Regions from separate parts of the Homo sapiens genome. Here region 2 is linked to region 1. Evidence: promoter capture Hi-C in 16 types of primary human blood cells and fetal thymus (Javierre and others, 2016). All regions are on one chromosome and are shown on one strand. Each heading gives the region's core, a stretch centred on a gene start or on the middle of the fragment in contact. The rest is flanking DNA. Distances are from core to core; before and after follow the strand shown. Region 1 holds the start of CPXM1 (carboxypeptidase X, M14 family member 1). Region 2 holds the start of PCED1A (PC-esterase domain containing 1A).

What was found. Contacts are between HindIII fragments. The CHiCAGO score rates a contact against its expected background, and 5 or more counts as called.
Region 2: a contact is called between the fragment with the promoter of PCED1A here and the fragment with the promoter of CPXM1 in region 1, in 1 of 17 cell types (megakaryocytes). The highest score is 5.1, in megakaryocytes.

Annotation. Positions count from the first base shown.
Region 1 is chr20:2,796,830-2,802,481 of GRCh38, reverse strand. CPXM1 (carboxypeptidase X, M14 family member 1) reads left to right here and starts at 1,855. Exons shown (of 14, transcript NM_019609.5): 1 at 1,855-2,081; 2 at 3,589-3,756; 3 at 3,945-4,054; 4 at 4,191-4,330; 5 at 4,424-4,514; 6 at 5,140-5,290; 7 at 5,388-5,476. The coding sequence starts at 1,910. RefSeq lists enhancers at 1,312-2,297, 2,298-3,285, 3,286-4,273. The HindIII fragment of the contact is 3,566 bases long and covers 1,492-5,057 here.
Region 2 is chr20:2,838,743-2,843,988 of GRCh38, reverse strand. PCED1A (PC-esterase domain containing 1A) reads left to right here and starts at 3,334. Exons shown (of 8, transcript NM_022760.6): 1 at 3,334-3,778; 2 at 4,056-4,200; 3 at 4,718-4,797; 4 at 4,907-5,145; 5 at 5,243-5,246. The coding sequence starts at 4,077. VPS16 (VPS16 core subunit of CORVET and HOPS complexes) reads right to left here and starts at 3,244. Exons shown (of 24, transcript NM_022575.4): 1 at 3,162-3,244. The coding sequence starts at 3,214. RefSeq lists enhancers at 2,436-2,967, 3,501-4,032. The HindIII fragment of the contact is 13,128 bases long and covers 1-4,809 here.

The DNA of each region.
Region 1 (5,652 bases), core at 606-3,105:
CCTGAACATATGGGACTTCTGAATCCTTTCCAAGGTTCCGGCAAAAAATCAGTTAAGTTGTAAAGTAGCATTGCAATCCCAAGTTTCATTAATTGGCCAAATTGATTGATTAGGGAGCTTGTATTGAACCCAAGCAATATTAGAAAAAAGGATATGCTTTTTAAACTCTTATTTATTTTTTATTTGTATTTTTTGAGACAGAGTCTTGCTGTGTCGCCCAGGCTGGAGTGCTGTGGCGCCATCTTGGCCCACTGCAACCTCCGCCCCCGGGGTACAAGTGATTCTCCTGCCTCAGCCTCCCTAGTAGCTGGGATTATATGTGCCCGCCACATATAATTAGCCCCCTGGCTGATTTTTTTTTTTTTTTTGTATTTTTAGTAGAGACAGGGTTTCGCCATGTTGGCCAGGCTGATCTCGAACTCCTGACCTCAGGTGATCCACTCGCCTCGGCCTCCCAAAGTGCTAGGATTACAGGTGTGAGTCACTGTGCCCGGCCAAGTTTTGCATTTTTAGTAGACTCCCGGTCTTTAACTCCGGACCTCAGGTGATCTGCCTGCCTTGGCCTCCCAAAGTGCTGGGGTTACAGGCATAAGCCATTGTGCTCAGCCTTATATGCTTATTTTTAAGAGTTTGTGGGTCAAAATGAGACCAATGGGACCATTTTTAAGGAGGCAATCCAAGGGCGAGTTGGATGGAACTGAATTAATTGAACCGAAGTTGGGTTTAGACAAGGAACTACAAGATCCCTGAGGCATCCCTGTGTAGAATTGAGATCCACCGCTTCCAGGACAAGGCTTATGGAGTGTTAAAATGAAAGTGCCCTGCCACTCTGACAGGCAATAGCTCTTTTGTCTTGGCCTTGGGGTAATACCGGGGGATGGCGCTTGGCCAGAAACTGTCAGTTGCCAACGAGAACTCAAGCTGGTTCACTGGCAGTCCGAAAACAGAAAAGAGCCCTGGCCAGTCCCTCACCCCTAAGGGCAAGGACAGCCAGGTATCCCTTCTCTAGGGCTTCAGGATCCCACAGAAGAGCTGCCTCCACCGGGACCGGCAGTTCCCCAAAGAGTAAAGAACCAGACCGTGGAAGGAAGCAGAGAGAAAAAGGAAGAGGGAAATCCCAGTGAAGTCCCCGTATGGGCCACCAAGATGCCAGGCGAGGTGTCAGAGCTCCGGAACCGGGAAGTGGTTGGCTCCCGGGTGGTAAAAGAACTTATCAACAACCGTGTAGGTCTGAAAAGGAAAGTTTTATTAGACGGAAAGGACGAGGCAGCAGAGCGCAGTAGGCGCTTCAGCAAGAGAGGACTGAGCTCCCTGCGGGGAACTGCAGGGTAATTTGGACCACATTAGTCACTTAGGTCATGGTAAATGGTTACATTTGTCGATATTTTGGTGCCTTGATGTCAGCAAAGTTTGCACAATGGGTCTTAACGTGCACTCATTCCGGAAACGTACAGAAATTCTAGTTACTTATAAATTCTTGGGACGGAAGCTTGGTACCAGATGTGGCTTTAGACAATAGGGAAGTGTCATTCTGAATTGCTCAGATAAGGGGCTTTGCCTCCTGTTGGTCGACTTGATGGCCACCAGGTGATCTCTGGTCTCTTCAGTGTGGCTTTGCAGACTATAAAGGCGCAGCGCGCCAACGAGGCGGGTTGGCCCCAGACGGCGGAGAGGAAGGGCAGAGTCGGCGGTCCTGAGACTTGGGGCGGCCCCTTGGAGGTCAGCCCCGCTCGCTCCTCCCGGCCCTCTCCTCCTCTCCGAGGTCCGAGGCGGGCAGCGGGCTGTGGGCGGGCAGGAGGCTGCGGAGGGGCGGGGGGCAGGAAGGGGCGGGGGGCTCGGCGCACTCGGCAGGAAGAGACCGACCCGCCACCCGCCGTAGCCCGCGCGCCCCTGGCACTCAATCCCCGCCATGTGGGGGCTCCTGCTCGCCCTGGCCGCCTTCGCGCCGGCCGTCGGCCCGGCTCTGGGGGCGCCCAGGAACTCGGTGCTGGGCCTCGCGCAGCCCGGGACCACCAAGGTCCCAGGCTCGACCCCGGCCCTGCATAGCAGCCCGGCACAGCCGCCGGCGGAGACAGCTAACGGTGAGTTCCCCGACCGACGGTCCGCTCCCCCGCAAGCCGACTGCCCGGCTCTCCTGCCCCGTGGGGCGATCCCTCCCTAACACGCGGGCACACGCACACCCACGCACACTCACAGTCATGCACACTCACCCCGCACGCACACTCGCACTCACGCGCACACACGCGCGCGCACTCACACACATTCACACACGCGCACACTTGCACTCACACGCGCGCGCATTCACACGCATGCACACACACGCACACTCACACGCGCGTGCGCGCACACACAGTGCACGCGCGCGCACACTCACACTCACAGTGCACACACACATATACACACTCACACTCCCTCAACTCCCTGCTGGGAGCAATGGCTGCTGACTCGGCAGCCCCAGTTCCCTGCCAGACCTAGTCAGCAGTCCCAGGACAGGCGCCAGTGGGATGCTGCCTCTTCCAAGCCCCAAACCTTCCCTTTTCACCAAAGACAAAACAGGCCAGAACTGGCAGGAGGGGAGACAGAGGGGCAGAAGCTCTCAAGGTGCAGAGCAAGACTGCGTAGGAGAGAGTTTGAAGGCGAGGGCTGGAGAGAAAGAACAAAAGGAAAGAAGGGAGAGCCCCTCGCTGAGGCTGCCGGGAGGATGGGGCAGAGCGGGAGAGGAAGGCAGCCCGACCTCCCAGCTTTCCAGATGTGGAATAGGAGAGGAGGAGCGCAAGCGGAGGGCACTCAGGGGCTTCTAGAGGAGGCAAGTGGAGGAGGGTCTTGAAGGGTGATGTCCCCGAGTCAGGGGAGTCTGGAGAGAGAGAGAGAGAGAGGGCTGCCAAGAAGGAAGCGGCGGGCAAAGGCACAGGGGCACCAGATGCGGAAATGGGCAGCCTGTTCTGGAGGCAGCTGTGGAGCTTCGATGGGTACCCCCAGCACCTGCCTGGGCAGAGCCTTGTGCTGAAGGGCCGGCGGGCAGGCCCAGCCCTGAAAGCCTCGACACCCAGGCAGACATGGATTCCAGGACAGGCCATCTGAGCCCAGAGAGCAGACACAACAATGGAAGCGGCACAGGGGTTTTGGGGCATGATGCTGAGTCTGGAGCTAAGAAAGCCTCCTTGGAAAGGCATCTGGGCTGAGATGCAAAGGAAGAATGGGAATTAGGTGAAAAAATCAGAGGCGAGGGGTAGCATTACAGGGGAGGGGATAGCTAGTGCAGAGGCCCGGAGGTAAAGTGCCAGACTCAGCTCTTTGGAGCAACCGAACAGTTTCTAGAGGCTGGGTGCAGCTCTCCATTGGATTAGAGGTTCACAGGGGAGGCTGGCCAAGCATGTAGTTACATCAGGGAGGAGAAGGAGGAGCCAAGGAAGTGACTGGAGAGGCAGGTTGGGGTCAGATTGCAGGCCTTTGATGTCCTGTGAAGGCTGTTAGATCCTGGTGGTGTGGCCTGCTGTGGGCTCACATGTCTTCTTGGGCTGGCAGACCTTTCCATCCGGGGTTTCACCATTCTTCCTTTCCCCCATGCTGTGCCTCTCGGACCCCAAGGGACCTCAGAACAGCATGTCCGGATTCGAGTCATCAAGAAGAAAAAGGTCATTATGAAGAAGCGGAAGAAGCTAACTCTAACTCGCCCCACCCCACTGGTGACTGCCGGGCCCCTTGTGACCCCCACTCCAGCAGGGACCCTCGACCCCGCTGAGAAACAAGAAACAGGTACTTCCTCTCCAGGGGCCCAGCCCAGACTTGCAGCCCCTGGGGCACTTTACCAGCACAGCTCTTGGCCTCATGGGCACCGGCACGCCCCTTGCTTGCCTAGCGCAGGAGCAACCTTAGGCTCAGCTTCCCACCTGCCCTGGCTACCCTCCCTCTGGTCCTGTCTCACTGTTCTATCCCCGCCCCAGGCTGTCCTCCTTTGGGTCTGGAGTCCCTGCGAGTTTCAGATAGCCGGCTTGAGGCATCCAGCAGCCAGTCCTTTGGTCTTGGACCACACCGAGGACGGCTCAACATTCAGGTCAGTAATCCTGGCTCGGAGCCATGGTCTCAGGGTAGGGAAGGCAGCCCCTGGGAGCTTCTCTCCTGCCTCCTCTCTGTCCTGGCCTGCCCCACTCTGTCCAACTGGGCCTGACCACCATGTCCTGTGTCTGCAGTCAGGCCTGGAGGACGGCGATCTATATGATGGAGCCTGGTGTGCTGAGGAGCAGGACGCCGATCCATGGTTTCAGGTGGACGCTGGGCACCCCACCCGCTTCTCGGGTGTTATCACACAGGGCAGGAACTCTGTCTGGAGGTGAGGCAGACTAACCCTAGGTCAGGAGGTCACAGAAGGACTGGGGTGGGAGTCCTGGGGGCACCGATGATCTCTCTCCACCTCTCCTGCCAGGTATGACTGGGTCACATCATACAAGGTCCAGTTCAGCAATGACAGTCGGACCTGGTGGGGAAGTAGGAACCACAGCAGTGGGATGGACGCAGTGAGTGGTCCCACTGTGGCTGGGGCCTCCATGCTGGGAGTTGGGCACCCAGTCCAGGCTAGGCTGAGGCTCCTCTGAGGACAAGGAATAGACGCCAGCTTAGGCTTCCCAGGGGGGTGTGGCTTGTTGTCAAGAGGGTGGCACACGGCAGGCACCATTGGGAGCCAGCTGCTTTGGGACATGCCCACATCCTCCCCAGATAATGCCACCACAGGGTGGGTGCTGCTTCACGGTACAGCTTCCTCCTGGCGTGCCCCTTCTGGCCCGGGGCCTCTGGTCCACATCACTTCTTGCCTTCTCGTGGTTCTGACTTCCGCATCTCATGGACCTCTTTTTACAGCAGGCTACAATGTGGAGTCCTGGCCAGCTCTAGGATTGGCTTCCCCCGAGTCATGTGGCCAAACTGGTCTAATGAACTGTGTCCAATCCAGAGAGCAAGGCTGCCTAGGGCTGCCCATTGGCAGGGGCTGTGGGCCGGGGTCTGTGTTTGATGCACAGTGCAAGTCTCTAGCTGAGCCCACTAGGGTGGGGAGACAGTAAGCTTGGAGGCCTGAGCTCCTTCCCTGGGTCCTGGGCCAGGCTTCTGGGGTTTGAGCAGCCACAACAGAGAACTTGCTGCCCCCAGGTATTTCCTGCCAATTCAGACCCAGAAACTCCAGTGCTGAACCTCCTGCCGGAGCCCCAGGTGGCCCGCTTCATTCGCCTGCTGCCCCAGACCTGGCTCCAGGGAGGCGCGCCTTGCCTCCGGGCAGAGATCCTGGCCTGCCCAGTCTCAGGTGGGCAGTCAGGCCAGGGTTGGTTGGGCAGGGCTTGGATGCAGGGTGCATCCTTCACTGTGGACACACCCTTTACCATAAACTCAACCTCCACCAGACCCCAATGACCTATTCCTTGAGGCCCCTGCGTCGGGATCCTCTGACCCTCTAGACTTTCAGCATCACAATTACAAGGCCATGAGGAAGGTCAGATATAACCCCTATGACCTGGGAAGGAGGGCCCACCCATCTCAGGTCCCCTTCCCACCTTCCCACCGGGGCACAACCTGCTGTGACTGCGCTTGTATGCCCCTGCTGCCTCCTGATGTCTCAGCCTTCTCTCCTGTGGACCCCTAAGCTCCATCCCACTTTCCCTTATTATG
Region 2 (5,246 bases), core at 2,085-4,584, 40 kb before region 1:
TCATGGGATTGTAAGGCTTAAGCAAGTTAAAACACATAAAGTACTTAGCATGTTTAGTACATAAGAAAGGCTCAATAGCTGTTAGCAACTTAAAACATAAATATCCTCCCCAGCAAGCCTTAGACCCCTAATCCTTTCTGGCAGTACAGCACAGGTAAGAGTAGATTAATCATTCAGATTGTGTCTGTGGCATGCACCCAACACATACATTCTTTTAAAACCTTATTAACATGTCAACAAAGCAAAGACTACATCTGACAAATAAGAGCTCTGTGGTAATGAGGTCAATGTCTGCAGTACTCTTTGATTTAATAAGCCTGGGTAGGCAACAGGTATCTTCAAAATAATACAAGTAAAGTTGATATTTTAAAAGTGAATGTTGTATCAACTAGCTGGTGTGTAAATACTAAATGACATGGCTACCTTGGTCAGCTGAAATTCCTTCTCCACAGAAACAAGTTGAAATCATTTCCTACTGCATTTATGGATTTTTAATGAAGTTTTTGCAATTTTTTCATACTGCACAGGCATATTTCTTTTCTTTTTTTTTTTTCCCCAAGATGGAGTCTTGCTCTGTTGCCCAGGCTGGAGTACAGTGGTGCGATCTTGGCTCACCGCAACCTCCGCCTCCCAGGTTCAAGCAATTCTCCTGCCTCAGCTTCCCGAGTAGCTGGGATTATAGGTGTGTGCCACCACGCCCGGCAAATTTTTGTATTTCTAGTAGAGACGGGGTTTCATCATGTTGGCCAGGCTGATCTCGAACTCTTGACCTCGTGATCTGCCTGCCTCAGCCTCCCAAAGTGCTGGGATTACAGGCGTGAGCCACCACGCTCGGCCAATTGCACAGGCATATTTCTAAGAGAGAATTATAAATAAACAACAAATGCAACAGGTCTCTAAAAACTGCCACAGGGCACTTGTCCATCTAGGAAGTATATCACATTAGGTACCAAAAATTACATTTAAAAGTTTTAATATGTCAGTGAGAATGGTATACAGTTTCATTAGCACAAACAAATGTCTTCTATTTAAGTAAGACCCCCATGCAATGTCTTTGTGATCTTTACTTGCAATCCATAACATATATCTATCTATCTATCGATAGATACATCTATCTATCTATCGATAGATACATCTATCTATCGATAGATACATCTATATGTCTATCTATAGATAGATACATCTATATGTCTATCTATAGATAGATACATCTATATGTCTATCTATAGATAGATACATCTATATGTATCTATAGATAGATACATCCATATGTCTATCTATATATAGATACATCTAGATGTATCTATATATATATAGATACATCTATATATCTATCTATATCTATCTATCTATAGATAGATATAGATAGATATATCTATATATAGACGGAGTCTCACTCTGTTGCCTGGACTAGAATGCAATGACGCTATCTTGGCTCACTGCAACCTCCGCCTCCCAGGTTCAAGCGATTCTCCTGCCTCAGCCTCCCAAGTAGCTGGGATTACAAGCACCTGCCATTATGCCTGGCTAATTTTTGTAGAGACAGGGTTTGACCATGTTGGTTAGGCTGGTCTCAAACTCCTGGCCTCAGGTGATTCACCCACCTTGGCCTCCCAAAGTGCTGGGATTACAGGCATGAGCCACTGCGCCTGGCCTAAAATAATATTTTTAATTTTTCAGAGGGAGTATGCTATGTTGCCCAGGCTGGAGTGCAGTGGTTATTCACAGGTTCTAACATCGGTCCCTACACCCTCAAACTTCTGGGCTCCAGTGATCCTCCTAACTCAGCCTCTCCAGTACCTGGGACTATAGGAACATGCCACAAAGCTCGGCCCAGTAAAATATTTTTAAAAAACTTTAATGGGCAATTATTACATAGCAAGCACTGTTCTAAATATGCACTGGTGATAAAGAGAAGCAAGAAACATGCTTTTGGCCGGGCTCAGTGGTTCACGCCTGTAATCCCAGTACTTTGGGAGGCCAAGGTGGATAGATTGCTTAAGGTCAGAAGTTCAAGACCAGCCTGGCCACCATGGTGAAACCTCACCTCTAGCAAAAAATACAAAAATTAGCCGGGCGTGGTGACAGGGGCCTGCAGTCTCAGCCACTCGGGAGGCTGAGGCAGGAGAATCCCTTGAACCCGGGAGGCGGAGGTTGCAGTGAGCCGAGTGCCCCTGCACTCCAGCCTGGGCAACAGAGGAAGACTCTGTCAAAAAAAAAAAAAATGCTTTCAGCCCTGAAGGAGCCTGGTTTAGCAGAAGAAACCTATACAAATGTCGCCTAAATATACAAATAGACCATACCTAAAAGACCCTAGCACTGGGCCCAGTGAGGCCCACAGGATTCTATTGGGGGAGAATCAGGCACAGTTCCAGAAAGAACCCTTGAACTACTAAGTCCTGAAGGATGCGCAAAATTCTTCAGTGAGATAAAGAGAGAAATGGCAGTATCCACAGAAACTGCAGACTGGTTAGGGCCTTGTAATTCTGCGCAGCTGGAACGCAAGATTTGGGTAGGAGAGCGGTAGATGAGGTTGGAGAGACAAACGGGCTGCCTTACAGATAGACGTTCCACGAGAAGTTCGTAGTTTTTCCTATTAGGGAAGCTATGGGAAAATCCTAATCTGGGTAACGATGTAACGGGTTTACACTTTAGAAAAATCCGTGGTTTAGGACTCTACAACTCCCATGGGCGGGCTGCCCTAACCCAGGGGTTCCCACTTCCGCTGTTCCGGGATTCACGGACGACTCGCCCCCTTTTCCCAGCCTTGGTCAGCACTGTTACCCCGCCCGCCGTGCGATCCCGCCCCCCTCGGAGCGCCCCTGTGGTCTGACTTCAGCAGCACTTTCCGGCAGGAGACTGGGCACTCGCTGTCACCCGCGAGCTGCCTCCCTCAGCGAGATCTGAGCATCTTTCCGGAGGCTAACAGACCTGGGCTTCGGGGTGACCACTGTGCTTGCCTCAGTTTCCTTTTCTGGAGCAGGGGAAGGCCCGGCTCCCTGCCCAAAGGCGGCTGTGCGCTAAGTGGCAGACGCTCGGGGAGAGCCGGCGCGGGGCGGACCCCAGCGCCAGTAGTGACAGGGGCGAACGCCGCCGGGAGACTCCAGCCGGCGGGCGAGCAGGGTAAGCCAGGCCGTGGGCGGGAGGGCGGGGCAGCTCACCGGTAAAAGGCAGAGTCCCCGAGTGGGTTCCAGTTCGCCGTGTAGCAGTCCATGGCTGGTGCAGACGGCAGCTGGGAAGCACCGAGGGGACACCCACCTAGAGCGGGCTCCAGGCCGGCACTTCCGCTTCCGCCCGTCCGGGTCACGTGGCGAGGCCGCCGCCGCGGCCATCACCACTGTGGGCAGCCTCACTTGGCTGCCGCCCCGAGACCCCAGCCCGTACCTGGGCTTCGCGCCCGCCAAGTGGGCCCAGCCCTGGCTCCTGCGCCCTGTGGCGGCCACCTCCATCGCCTTGCTTTCCCTTCGGGCACTGGGGGTCGCTCAGGGCGGGACATGGGTGAACGGAAGTGGAAGCTGTGAGCGTCGCAGCCCGAGGCGCCGAGGCCTGAGGCGCCGTCGGGGCCACAGCGACGCTCGCATGGAGAGCGCTGGGCGCTGGGCTGTGCACCGACGGCTAACCTGGACCCACGGTCTCTGCGGGGCGGGAGCTTTGCAGAACCGACTGGCCGACTGGGGCGCGGGAACATGAGGCTTGGCTAGGAGCCCGCTGCGGGCCAGGCGCGCGGTGCGCAGGCATACCCGGGTCGCGGGTGAACACCGCGGAGCCCCGGGACTTGGTAATTGGCGCGAGCGGGTGCGCGCATGCGCGGGACGGCGGCGGGCACGTGGCGAGGCGCAGGGCGGCGCCGCGCGGGAAGCTCCCCAGTGCCCTGGAGGCCTGCTGGCTGGACGACCCCCTGCCTCTGGTACCAAGTGTGACCAAGGCTGGCGCCACCATGGCTCTGCTGCCGTCACCTCCTCCCTTTAGCATTGAGCAGCCCCGGAGGGGCTAGCCCTGAGGCTGACCTGCCCAGAGTCCCCACCATCGCGCTGCTTAGTGGCCTCTCCCTGCAGCCTGTCGTTGCTGGTGGCGGCATGGTCTTCTGTCTGTCGAGCGAGGAGCCGCGCCGCCCGCTGCGAAGCGACATGGTCCACTTCCAGGCCTCGGAAGTCCAGCAGCTGCTACACAACAAGTTCGTGGTCATCTTGGGGGACTCCAGTGAGTGCCTCTTCTAGGGTGACGCTTCCAGTCCCACACCTTGCAGCCCGTTCAGTGTGTCTGGACCATTTGTTTCCATCTCACATCTCTTGTCTGTCTTCTGGTCTGTTCCGTCCAGTAGGTTTTCTCTTTTTATGTCCCACACATCTTCCACAGGAGTCCTGACAGGTGTAATAACCTGTGCACTTTTTAGCCCATCCTTGCTCAGCATTTCTCGCCCTGACAGCTCCCCATAATTTCCATCACGAAAGCGTTGCATTGTGTAGTGTGTCTCCTGGGTGACTTGGCCGACTTAATTTCTGCCAGGTGATCTTGGGTCACTGTATACTGCTGGCCAGGAGGCACACAGAACAGAGGCAATGCCAGGACTTTTTAACCTCATCTTTTCTCCTGCGTCTAAGTCAACCACAGAGCTGGTGTCGGGCACCTCAGCCCTGGGAAAATGGGGTCCTGGACTTGGAAGGAGCTGGGGCAGGCTGAGGTCTGCCTCAGCCTTGGGATCTCTGTCTCCTCCCAGTTCAGAGGGCTGTGTACAAGGACCTGGTGCTCTTGCTCCAGAAAGACTCACTGCTCACAGCTGCCCAGCTGAAAGCCAAGGTGAGGGAAGCTTGGTGGCCATGTCAGTGGTGGGTGGGCACAGACCCTGGCCTGGCAGGGTTCTCCTCCCTGGCATGGGTCTGACCAGTAGGGTGGGGGGGGTGGGTAGGGGGAGCTGAGCTTTGAACAGGACCAGCTGGTGGCTGGGGGCCAGCTGGGCGAGCTGCACAACGGGACACAGTATCGTGAGGTCCGCCAGTTCTGCTCGGGCTCTGGCCACCACCTTGTGCGCTTCTACTTCCTCACTCGTGTTTACTCCGAGTACCTTGAGGATGTTCTGGAAGAGCTGACATATGGACCTGCCCCGGACCTGGTGATCATCAACTCCTGCCTCTGGGATCTCTCCAGGTTGGGGCGAGGGAAAGGGGAATACTGGTTGGGGCTGGAAGTACGGCTGAGGCAGTCCACCCTTGTGCTCTTGCCCACCCTGTGTGTTATCCAACAGATAT